2 separate regions of the Homo sapiens genome follow, and region 2 is linked to region 1. The links are contacts of gene promoters, found by promoter capture Hi-C in human tissues and cell types (Jung and others, 2019). All regions are on one chromosome and are shown on one strand. The core of a region is centred on a gene start or on the middle of the fragment in contact, and the rest is flanking DNA. Distances in the headings are between cores, read along the strand shown. Region 1 holds the start of SSH1 (slingshot protein phosphatase 1). Region 2 overlaps PRDM4 (PR/SET domain 4).

Evidence for each region. The method cuts DNA at HindIII sites, captures the fragments that hold promoters and counts their contacts. A contact is called where the count stands out against the background at its distance.
Region 2: a contact is called between a fragment that was not itself captured here and the fragment with the promoter of SSH1 in region 1, in 1 of the 25 tissues and cell types used here (mesenchymal stem cells).

Annotation. Positions count from the first base shown.
Region 1 is chr12:108,853,215-108,859,006 of GRCh38, forward strand. It overlaps SSH1 (slingshot protein phosphatase 1), which reads right to left and starts at 4,369. Exons shown (of 15, transcript NM_018984.4): 1 at 4,214-4,369. The coding sequence starts at 4,282. RefSeq lists enhancers at 751-1,950, 3,065-3,566, 3,619-3,668 and a silencer at 4,099-4,838. The HindIII fragment of the contact is 11,424 bases long and covers 1-5,792 here.
Region 2 is chr12:107,749,343-107,755,317 of GRCh38, forward strand. It overlaps PRDM4 (PR/SET domain 4), which reads right to left. Exons shown (of 12, transcript NM_012406.4): 4 at 4,582-4,767; 5 at 2,073-2,867. The region is part of intron 3 of PRDM4-AS1 (PRDM4 antisense RNA 1); the gene reads left to right. Among named protein-coding and RNA genes, the nearest start is that of PRDM4, 8.8 kb to the right of the region's middle. The HindIII fragment of the contact is 3,030 bases long and covers 680-3,709 here.

The sequences.
Region 1 (5,792 bases), core at 3,119-5,618:
AAACATTTGATACGAAACATCCTAGGCTATCGGTTTATTTATATAAATGCAAGAAAGAGATATTTAATATTTTCTGAAATCTAAAAGGCCACGAGTTTGGGCTCCAGAAGTACCTATGACTTATTTTTATTTTTTTTCTTTCAGAGAGCAAACTGAAAATAAGAAGGAAACACATACACACCCCCCAAACAACTCCGCACCGCTGGGACTTGGCATGTTTTTTATGTTGCACAGAGGCGCCCATTGAATGGGAAAGAGAAACCTGGAAAGCTGTGATGGCTGGGAGAGATGCAGGGCTGATCGAGGACAGAAATGAGGCAGGAGCCAAGGGCGAAGGAAAAAGGGTCCAGAGATAATGTAGGGAGGGGCCTGGGCAGCAAGGGACACCCACCAGGAGGTGGCAACTTCAACCAAGAATGAGTACACCAGCCCGGCGCAGTGGCTCACACCTGGAATCCCAGCACTGCAGGAGGCCGAGGTGGGCGGATCACCTGAGGTCAGGAGTTCGAGACCAGCCTAGCCAACAAGGTGACACGCTGTCTCTACTAAAAATACAAAAATTAGCCAGGCACGGTGACATGTACCTGTAATCCCAGCTACCTGGGAGGCTGAGGCAGGAGAATCACTTGAACCCAGGAGGCGGAGGTTGCAGTGAGCCGAGATTGCACCACTGCACTCCAGCCTGGTGAAAGAGCAATACTTCGTTTCAAAAAAAAAAAAAAAGCGTACACCAGAGGGCCTGGGAGTCCCTACATCATATTAAGATGAAGTACATACAAGATTCTGCAGAGGCACCTACCCCACACTGAAGGAGAAGTGGAAAGAGCAGGGAAGGCTTCAATGACCACAAAACAAGTCACAAGAGCAACAAATTGACAAAGAGTATGTTGGGGTCTAACCCAGTGGTTCTCAATGCGGAGCAAGTTCTCTCAACAGGAGACATTGGAAGATGTCTGGAGGCATTTTTCTGGAGGTCACTACTGGCACCTAGTGGGTAGAGGACAGGATCCCACAACACACAGGATGGTCCCCCCACAAGAGAGAATGTTCTGGTCCCAAGTATCAACAGTGGGTTGAGAAACTCTGGTCCAATCCAAAAAAGTGCCTGGAGATCTGCCCATGAAAATTAGTCACTTTGAATGTTTCTCAGAAATAACAATGTTATGATCCATTCCTGAAAATTATTGATTTATCTATTCTTGTGCTCTGCCTGTTCACACAAAGGAACTGAGATAAGATTCACAGGAAAATGACATAAGTGACATAATCAAAGACTGGGAAAAAAAGAAAATTAAAAGAGAAAAGAGAGCCTTAGGACTGAGGGCTGTGATCCCCCGTTTCCCACGCCGGCAGCAGGCCTGGCTGTGTCAGGAAAGCACTGCCCTAAGTGTCTGACTCATTATGAAGTTGCAATTTGAAGAGTGATGACGTGACTTGGGGGTACGGACTTCACAATCATTTAACTCTCGGTCACTCTCTGAGGTTCTCAGATGAAAGGCCATCTCAGGTCAGTTATTCCAGGGAAACTACATCTGCCAAGGAACACATGAAAGAGGTAATTCAGTCCTTTTAGATGAGCCAGGGCCCACACACAGGAAGCAACTCAAGCGAGGGCGGACCAGGGCAGAACCGGCCTGGCCTAGGTCTCCTGACCCCATACACACTTGCTGTCTCCATCCCACCTTGCTTCTCACCTCAACACATCTGAACGAGGGCCTTGCCTTCGGGAAACATCCCAGCGCATTCAAAGCCAAGCAATGAATGCTGCAGCTTTGCTATGATCAAATAAAAGCTGCCTGAGTTTTACTTTATGTTTATCAGGGTCATTGGCACTTGGTAAAAATAATGCTTTATATAATAATTGAAAATGTATCTAGTAGACACAACACAAATGTCCAACAAAATGTGGTACATCCATACAATGGAGTATTATACAGCCATGAAAAGGAATGAAGTACTGCCACATGCTACAATATGCATGAACTTTGAAAACGTGATGCTGAGTCAAAGAAGCCAGACACAAAAGGCCACACAGGGTGTGATTCCATTTATATAAAATGTCCAGAATAAGCAAATCCATAGATACAGAAAGTAGATTAGTGGTTGCCTAAGGTTAGGGAGAATGGGGCAGGGGGAGGCTGCAGGTGAGGGCTAACGGGTACAGGGTTCCTATTTTGGGGAGGATGAAAATGTTCTGGAATTAGATGGTGGTGGTTGCACAATCTCATGTATATACTAAAAACCACTGAATTGTACACTTTAAAATGGCAAATTTATGGTATGTAACTAAAAAATAATAAGACCTTAAAATGCGTAAGACAAGAACAGATTAGGTTGCAAGTAACTCTAGGAACATGGGGTTTTGAATCAGAAATCTGGGCTGACAGGTTCAGCCTGAAGCCAACCTCTCCCCTTACCTCACATAAACTTTTGTGATGAGAACCTGAGATTAAGTGCATAAATTGCCAGACAGCAGTGACCGGAACAGAAAACAGCCCCTCCTCGCTGTGGGAAGGAAAGGCGCTCCTGCAACCTAACTTCTCAGTAGCAGGCTATTGATCGCCAGTGTTCTTTTGCCTCTAATCAGCGTGTAGAGGGGGATTACTAGAACCTTCTGTGTATAGATAACTCATGAATGGCCTCTCCTCTCCAAGGAGGGGGCTGTGAAGGTTCAACTTCCCAGCCACTCTGAAAATGTCCCTGCCAATCCCAGCAAAACAAGGCTGAAGAACTACCCTACCAGGAGACAGGGCTGTCAAGCCAAATGCAAACATTATTCTCTTGTCTCTCTCAGACACACAAACCTCCCCCGTGTTATCAGTCAACTTCCCCCACTCCCTCCCACAAAGAAAGGGGCTGAAGAGCCCAGATGCTGGCTGCGGAACTTCCTGGGCCTGGGACCGCAGGGCCGCTCCTCCAGTCTTCTCTAAACACAGCTAAGGGTCTGCAGGCGGACACTCAGCCTTGTTATAGGTAAGAGTTTAGACCAGAGGCCTTGACGGGTTCTTCAAGAGATGGTGGGCAAGATTGCGCGACCAGAGGGTCATCCCTGCAGCTACAGAGGGCTGACCTGCTCAGAGGCCCAAGGCCCCAGCCTAGGACAAGCCAGGCCAACCCTGCAGGCTAAGAGGGCAACAGTGCCCTCAATCAACCCCAGAGGAAAAAGTGGCCAGGCAAACGGACCTGGGCCACACACAGACCCACAAAAACGCGCACAGTGCCAGGACACGCAACCCAGGAATGCACCTATGCAATCACCCAGAATGGGTCACAGCCACACAGAAAGATAGATGCACATAAACACACAGGCCTGAGTGATGTTACAGAAAGGAAAAGCCAGACTAAGGCTGCACGCACAGACGTGAAACACAGCCACACAGAGCCCACAGCACGCTCGGTCACCGTCACACAGTGACACGGGCACGCCTACAGACAGAACTCCAGAGGCGGCAGGCGGGGAAACAATCTCACACGTTTGTAGGGGCACTCCCAGATGCCTGTCTCACGCTGGCACAGTCCCCGGACGGCAGGTCAGCAACAGTCACATCTCACATCGCACAGCCAGGCATACAGGCAAAGGGCCTAGAACTACCCCGGCCACAGGTCTCAGAACCAGCGGCTCACGCAGTCACCCAATCAAGGGTCCCAGTTGCACATCCAGTCACCCCTGGACCCTGGTCACACTGCAGAGTCACTCACAAATGGGAGTCCCGACAGACGCACAGTCCTCCCCAGACAGAGGTCAACCCAAGATGGGGGTCACACCTGAAATCACAGTCCCCACACAATCACGAGGTCACATCTGCACACACAGTCTCTGCACAGTCACCCTTAGGGGTCACAACGCACACAGTCTCCGCCTAACAGGGGTCACCCCAAGATGGGGGTAACCCCCTGATGTGGGTCACAGCGCACACACAGTATCCTGCAGACACTCCCAGAGGGGTCGCACTGCATACACAGTCCCTGCAAAGTCGCCCCCCGATAGGGGTCACACCGCACACAAAGTCCCCGCACAGCTCCCCAAGACAGGGTCACATCGCACACAGTCCTCGCACGGTCACCCCGGTCCGGCTGCCCGGCTCTGTTCCTACGGCGGGGCCCCGAGGAGCCCGCGCAGCCGCCCCCCTGCCCCGCACGCGCGGCCCCAGCTCCGGCGGCCTCGGCGCGGCGTCCGGCGGCCCAGGCCGGGCGCGGCGAGCCCGGGGCTCACCTCGCTGTTGCTGGCCGAGGAGGAGGCGGCGCTGGGCGTGGGCGAGCGCTGCAGGGTCACCAGGGCCATGGCTGCGGCGCGGTGCGAGGGCGCCACAGACGTCTCGAGCTAGAGCCGCCACCGCCACCGCCGCCCGGGCCGGGCCCGGGGCCTCCTGGAGCCGCGCGCGGGCGGCCGGGCCGAGCCGGGCCGGGCCCGCCCCTCCCCCTCGGCGTCGCCACCGCCCCCGCCCCCAGCTCCCGCCTCCCGCGCCGGCGCGCGCAGGCCTCAGTGCGCGGAGTGGGCGGGGAAGCGGGCAGGGCGGGACGAGGAGGCGCGCGTGCGCGGGGGCCCTGAGGGCTGCCCGAGGCCTCGGCTGGTCGATCACGTCCCTCGCGCGCCCGACACACGCGCCCCCGCCCGCGCGCCCCGCTATCAGGCCTGGGACTCGGGGGCGCGCGCGCCGCCCGGAGCCCGTACGCCCCAGGGGCCCTGCCCGCTGCTCTGCCTGGGGAAACTGAGGCCCGGCGACCGTGCAGACAGGACTGTACAGCGACCAGGAAATAAAAGACGTCCTGGGGCCGGGCGCGGTGGCTCACGCCTGTAATCCCAGCACTTTGGGAGGCTGAGGCGGGCGGATTACGAGGTCAAGAGATCGAGACCATCCTGGCCAACATGGTGAAACCCCGTCTCTACTAAAAAGACAAAAATTAGCTGGGCGCAGTGGTGCGCGCCTGTAGTCCCAGCTACTCGGGAGGCTGAGGCAAGAGAATCGCTTGAATCTGGGAGGCGGAGGTTGCAATGAGCTGAGATCGCGCCACTGCACTCCAGCCTGGGCGACAGAGCGAGACTCGGTCTCAAAAAAACAAAAAACAAAAAACAAAAACAGTAAGCAAAATAGATTCGCCTGATTTTGCAGAGGTTAATCAAGTTATTAGGCACGTTTTTAAAAAAGTATTTTGCTAATCTTTTTCAATGAATTCTTTCTGGGTGTTCTGAAACCCAGCCAACTCCTTGGAGGTCAGGGAAGGCTTCCCAGAAGAGCTTTATTCTGAGGCTTGGGCTTGAGCATAAGCAGGATTAACAGGTGAAAGAACAGAGAGACAGCTCTCCAAGCAGGGGGGATCAGCGTGCCCTGAAGCAGGAAGAAGTTTGTCAACCGGAGGCCAGCACTCAGGGAAGGGAAGAGGGGAGGAATGGCTGGAGTCTCCATCCTCTCTGGAAAGATCGCTCCGGCTGCTGCGTGGATGAGGGACCACGGGGCAGAGGGCTGAGGGAGACCAGGGAGGAGGCTGCTGCTGTTGTCCCGGGGAGAGGTGACCAGTTATGGGGATGGAGAGGGGAACATGGAATAAGATACCAAGAAGGCAATTCTGGCTTGACTTAGTAGTAGGAAACTTTTCTTTTAGCCAAAATCTCATCTCCCGGCTCCCACCCCCAACCTCTGCATGTTGCACAAGCACTCGCAAACGCAGTGGTCCCAGCCTGCCCCGCAGCTTAGCAAATTTGTCTTACTGCCCAACAGGAAACCCACGCAGCCTCCTGGATTCTTCCCCGTCCCTCCCTCTGTCCTGGGGCTGTGACCTCCTCCATGTTATTC
Region 2 (5,975 bases), core at 945-3,444, 1.1 Mb before region 1:
ATCATATCCTCCTCTGCCTTTCACTACTACCCTACCTACTTAGTTTCTGTTTGCTTTTTTTTTTTTTTTTTTCCTGAGACAGGGTTTCACTATGCTGCCCAGGCTGATCTTGAACTCCTGGTCTCAAATGATCTTTCTGCCTCAGCCTCCCAAAGTGCTGGGATTACAGGTGTGAGCCAACACATGGCCTTCTCTACTTACCTAGTTTCTATCTACCTAGTTTCAGAAGCCAGAAACCAGGGTTTTCTCCTTAATGCTTCCCTCCTCCAACTTTATCCAATCGATAAGCTCAACTGGGTTCTCTGCAAATGTCCTCCACTCTTCTGCATCCTAATTACCTCTACTCTAGATTGGTGAGAATCATCACCTTTCCCATAAATTATGATATCTTCCACACCTCCTTGCCTCTTAACAAATTTATTCTCACATTGCAGCAAAGCCCTACCCCAACCCTCACTCCCTAAAACTCTTGACCGGTCTTAAAAGAGCCTTTGTGTTCTGGCTCCTACTTCTCCTCTCACCACATGACCCCTCTCTTCACCCTCATTTTATGCTTCAGCAATTCTGAAACACTCATGATTCTTTTGGTTCTAGGCACTTACAGGTGCCAGCTCCTGTCTTCCTGACTCTCAACTGCCCACATCTTTCTTGTCCTTAAGGTCTGTGCTAACATGTATGTTACTTCCCTTGGTTAAATCTTCCCCGACCCTTCCATGGCCTGGCTAGTTGCTCCCCTTCAGGCTACTTTAGTACCAATGCACTTCACCCCATCGTCACACTTATTATTATCCTATATTGTAACAGTCTCCTATGCTTCCTACCAGACTGTAAGCTCCTTAAAGGTATGTACACATACTGTCTCTTGGTAGATCGTTCTATCCCTAGCATCTAGCAGAGGCTGCCACATAGTAAGCACTAAAAAGCCCAGCATGATGGCTCACACCTGTAATCCTAGCACTCTGGGAGGCTGAAGCAGGAAGATTGCTTGAGTCGAGTTCAAGACCAGCCAAGGCAACACAGTGAGACCCCCATCTCTACAAAAAATTTAAAAATTAGCCAGGTGTGGTGGTACACACTTGGGGTCCCAGTTGCTCGGGAGGCTAAAGTGGGAGGATCACTTGAGCCCAGGAGGTCGAGGCTACAGTGAGCCGTGATCGCACCACTGCACCCTAGCCTGGGCGACAGAGAAACCCTATCAATAAATTAAAATAAGCACTCAACATGTTTCCTGCATGAATGAAACACAGTGACACCAGTAAATCAACTGTTTTTATATTGTTTTTTGTTGTTGTTGCCCAATAAGAAAAACTTTTACACGCCCAAGAATAATAATTTATATGCACTCTGAGCAAAGAAAAAAATTGGTTTATATCCACCTACATTTTTCCATGGGGTTATAAAAGTGACTGAATAATTTTCACAAGGCATGTCACAAACAGCTTTACTAGAATTTACCCCTATAACTCTCTATTTGTGAAACCTTGGGAAATACCTTAACTATTACTGGGCTAAACTTACCTTTTTTAAAAAAATATTGTATTATCACTATGATTGTTTTTTAGAGACAGGGTCTCACTTTGTTGCCCAGGCCGGAGTGCAGTACTATTCACAGGTGTGATCGCAGCATACTATAGCCTGAAACTCCCGGGCTCAAGCAACCCTCTTCCTCAGCCTCCAGAATAGCTGGGACTATTCACAGGTGGGATCACAGAACACTATAGCCTGAAACTCCTGGGCTCAAGCAACCTCCTGCCTCTGCCTCCAGAATAGCTGGGACTACAGGCACACACTACCGCATGTGCTAAGCTTATCTGCAAAATACAAAAATGACTACTTCACATTTCATTTCTTCAGGAGGATGCTCTAAGAACCAACTAAATGTATGTATATCATTTGGCTTACTTGAAGAAAAGGCACCACATTAATATAAAGGACAATACCAAGGCAAAGAAAAGTTCCAAGGTCTAGTTGCTTTCTATACTCCCTTAATGCCAAACTTTACGACTTAACTTGTTAGGGATGGTGGCCCTTTTTACAAATATTTCCAAAAAAGAAAGGCTAAACACACTCACAAATTGTAAACAAGGTTGCCATGTTCTCCTTGTTTGAATTGGAGTCTTCCATTTGCAGTGAAGGTGATACAAAAGAAAGACTGTCTGAAGATACATCTACATGACCTGTCCCCATAGCAACCTCCTGGGTGATGGAGGAGACAGCCACAGGTTCTAGGCTGAGGCCAACTTCATGGAGGGAAACAGATTCTAGGGAGGCAAGGTTGTGTGAGGTAGAGAGTGCCACGCTTACAGAGTTGGTGCTCATGGCCACAGTGTGAATGGAGTCACTGAGGGCACTGTCAGACATGCCATTGACCCGACTTGCAATGTGGTCTGTCTCCATGACCACAGGGAGCTCCAGGCCATTCCCATGCATGGGTATCACACCACCATGTCCTACAGCGTCTGCTGCAAGGTTGTTGCTCACAGAATCCACAGACAGAGGTTCATGACTTCTGGAGCCATTTGGGATTTGGGAATGCTCGCCTGCAACACCGTCCATCGTAAGCTCCTCTGCCATTCCATCTGTCGAAATTGGGCTGGTAACCCTAGAAACGTTCTCCATAGTGATTGCTGTGTCCAAGGCCACCTCATGGCCATCACTGGGATGAAGACTTTGGGCACCATGTGTGTTCACAGAGCGAGAGTCTATTGAAACAATGCCTGGTTCTAATCCAACATTTCCATTGGACTGATAGGGATCTAGTGCTGAAGGGTTATTGGTGATAGATAATGCTGTATTACCATCAACATTTATAGAGTTAGGGTGGATGTACTGTGGAGGTGGTCTGTCAGCTAAATAAGATAAAATGCCTGAGAAAAGGAAAAGATGAGATATCAGAGACTTTTAGTACATTATTAAAGAATTCCAAGCACTAGACGCTATTTCCTTACAAACATAACTAAGTTCAAATAATCTCCTGCTTCTTTAATTTAATCGATACACACTATTTTATAAATAGCAACATACATATACCGTAATTGAGTTTTTCCTGTAAAACTCGAAAATCCTAAAAAAGTTAACTATGTTCCTTTGAAGCTAACTGGGAATCACTAACGAAAACACTGCTTTTAATATACATATGGTTGCAATTCCTGAGTCCTAAGGTGTAAAATTTGCTCTCCTAATTATTAAAAGGTAAAATGATTTAAAAACAGATCTTCCATGTGAAAAATAAAACTTAATTAAATATAATTTAATATAATTAAACTATCATAACACAAACTATTTAATACAAGTCACAATTGTACCTGTTTTATTAAAACAAAAAAAAATTAACACTTGTGCTTGGGAGGATATGGTGAAATGATACTTACTAAACTGCCAGAGGGAATGTAAACTGCTAAAACTTCTTTGTGAAGCATATATATTAGGAGCCTCAAAAATGTTAATACCCTCTTGCACAAGAAATTCCACTTAAGGTACTCTTCTCTAAATCCATTTTGTAAATATTATACATAAAGACGTTCATAAGAGCATTAGTTACAATGGTAATAAAAACTGGAAAAACCAAACTGTCCAACAATAAAGATAATAAACCATCAAATACCCATTCAGTAGAAAGTAATGCATCATTAAAAAGGATAATTATGAAAACCACGTAGCAGCAAAGGAAAATACCCATGTAACAGCAGAGAAAAAGATAAAGTGAAAAAAGTAAAGACAGACAATCGTATAGAAAGTATGGTCTTGGGCAGGGCACAGTGGCTCATGCCTGTAATCCCGGCACTTTGGGATGCTGACGTGGGCGGATGGCTTCAGCGCAGGAGTTCGAGACCAGCCTCGGCAACATGCCAAAACCCCATCTCTTTTTTTAAAAAAGTTATTTATAAAAAAGAAATGAAATATGGTATGGTCTCAAGGCAGGCATGTGCCTGTATTCCAAGCTACTCAAGAGTCTGAGGTGAGAGAATCACTGGAGTCCAGGAGTTCCAGTCCAGCCTGGGCAAAATAGTTGAGACTCCGTCTCCATTAAAAGAAAAAAAAAAAAAAGAAAAGAAAAAAGAGAGCAAGAGAAGAAACCGTGGTCTTAATTATGAAAATTGGTAAAAACCTATACACCAAAACAAATGGCAGGAAGGAAGTACACCAAAAAGATGGATGATGGGACTGAGTGGTTCCTTCCCTTATTTGCTAAATTTTCCGCAATAAGCATATAATACTCCTATAACAGAATAAAAATTCAATGAACTTAAAAAACATGACACTATAACAAGACACTATAGTGCTTGACTGAAATTATAGCTGTAGAATTATAAACACCAAATGAAAGAGATACTGGAGGAGAAAGAAGAAAAATTATGTGCAATTAAGAAATTCAGCTTAGTCAAACTGTATTACTAATGTGTTATGTGCCACATTCTAAGAGGAAAAGTACATAAATATAAACAAAGATACTTTTCCTGCCTAGAGATTAATATCTAATAGTGACAAACAGAAAAAAGTGTTATTCATATCTTCAGGATAAAAGTTTAAAAGCTGGCGCCGTTCTTTTTCTCTAACATCTCAAGTAACTGTAACACTTACCAGGTAGAATGGTTCTGAAATAACTGCTCTCCAGGTGAGGGTAAGGTGGTGGAGGTAGGGTGTAGTTTCTTTCAGGTAACCCACACATCACCCCTCGATCCCCAATACCCATTGGTAGCATTAAAGACAGAGCAGAAGGCAGAGAGCTCAGGGAGGGACCCAGGTTTGGAATTGCCACTGGGAGGCCTACAAAACAAAATTTTTTTTCTCAGTTAAAAGAAAATAGGTAATTAAAAATTCTCACTACAACCACTGGCTAAACTCTTAGAAAGGTTTTTACACATGGGCAAAAATCTCACCTACTAGCCCTTTTCATCCTTAGATAATGTGCAAATATCCACAAATAAGCCTAAAGAAAGTAGTCTTAGTCCCAAAGATAGTTTTTAAGTTAGTTCTAAACCGGCAAGTTGATACTCCAATTGTCTGTATTGCGCTTAAATACAAAAATATTTAATTAATTAATTTATCGATTGATTTGAGACGGAGTCTTGCTTTGTTGCCCAGGCTGGAGTGCAGTGGTGTGATCTCAGCTCACTGCAATCTCGGCCTCCTGGGTTCAAGCAATTCTCCTACCTCAGCCTCCTGAGTAGCTGGGATTACAGGCACACACCACCACACCCAGCTAATTTTTGTATTTTTGCTAGAGACAGGGTTTCACCATGTTGGCCAGGCTGGTCTCGAACTCCTGGCCTCAAGTGATCTGCCCACCTCAGCCTCCCAAAGTGCGGGGATTGCCACCATGCCCAGCCAAAATATTTAATTTAGAATTAAAAACCGAGTTTAAATACAAGAAAACAAATTATATAGAGAAAAAAACAATGGAAACATAAAATGTTCATAGGAGTAGTCCCTAGGTAGTGATAGTATGAAATTTTTTTGGTATTTTTAAACTTTATTGTATTTACCATTTTATATGGTGAGAATATTTCATTTCTACCTGGAAAACAACGTAGTTTAGTTAGATGTAAAACTGTACATGTACACCTTCATACAATCTTTTGTATATATGCTACACTTAGTGATTAATAAAAGCTTTAAACGTGAGATTATATCTACTTTGAGTTATATGTACTTGCAAAGTGAAGTGACTTTTACTGGGCTAAGTATCATAATAAATACCCACCAACTTGGTCAGTGCTGATTTGCATATTTTTGCCAGGGGCAATATTTTTTTTTTTTGAGACAAGGTTTTGCTATGTTGCCCAGGTTGGAGCGTAGTAGCATGACCATGGCTCAGGCAACCTGAGCTTTCCTGGCTCAAGTGGCCATCCCTTCTCAGCCTCCTATGTAGCTCCTACGTAGCTGGGACTACGGGTGTGTGCCACCATGCGCTGCTAATTTTTTTTTTTTTCTTTGTAGAGATGGGGTCTCCTTATGTTACCTAGGCTGATCTT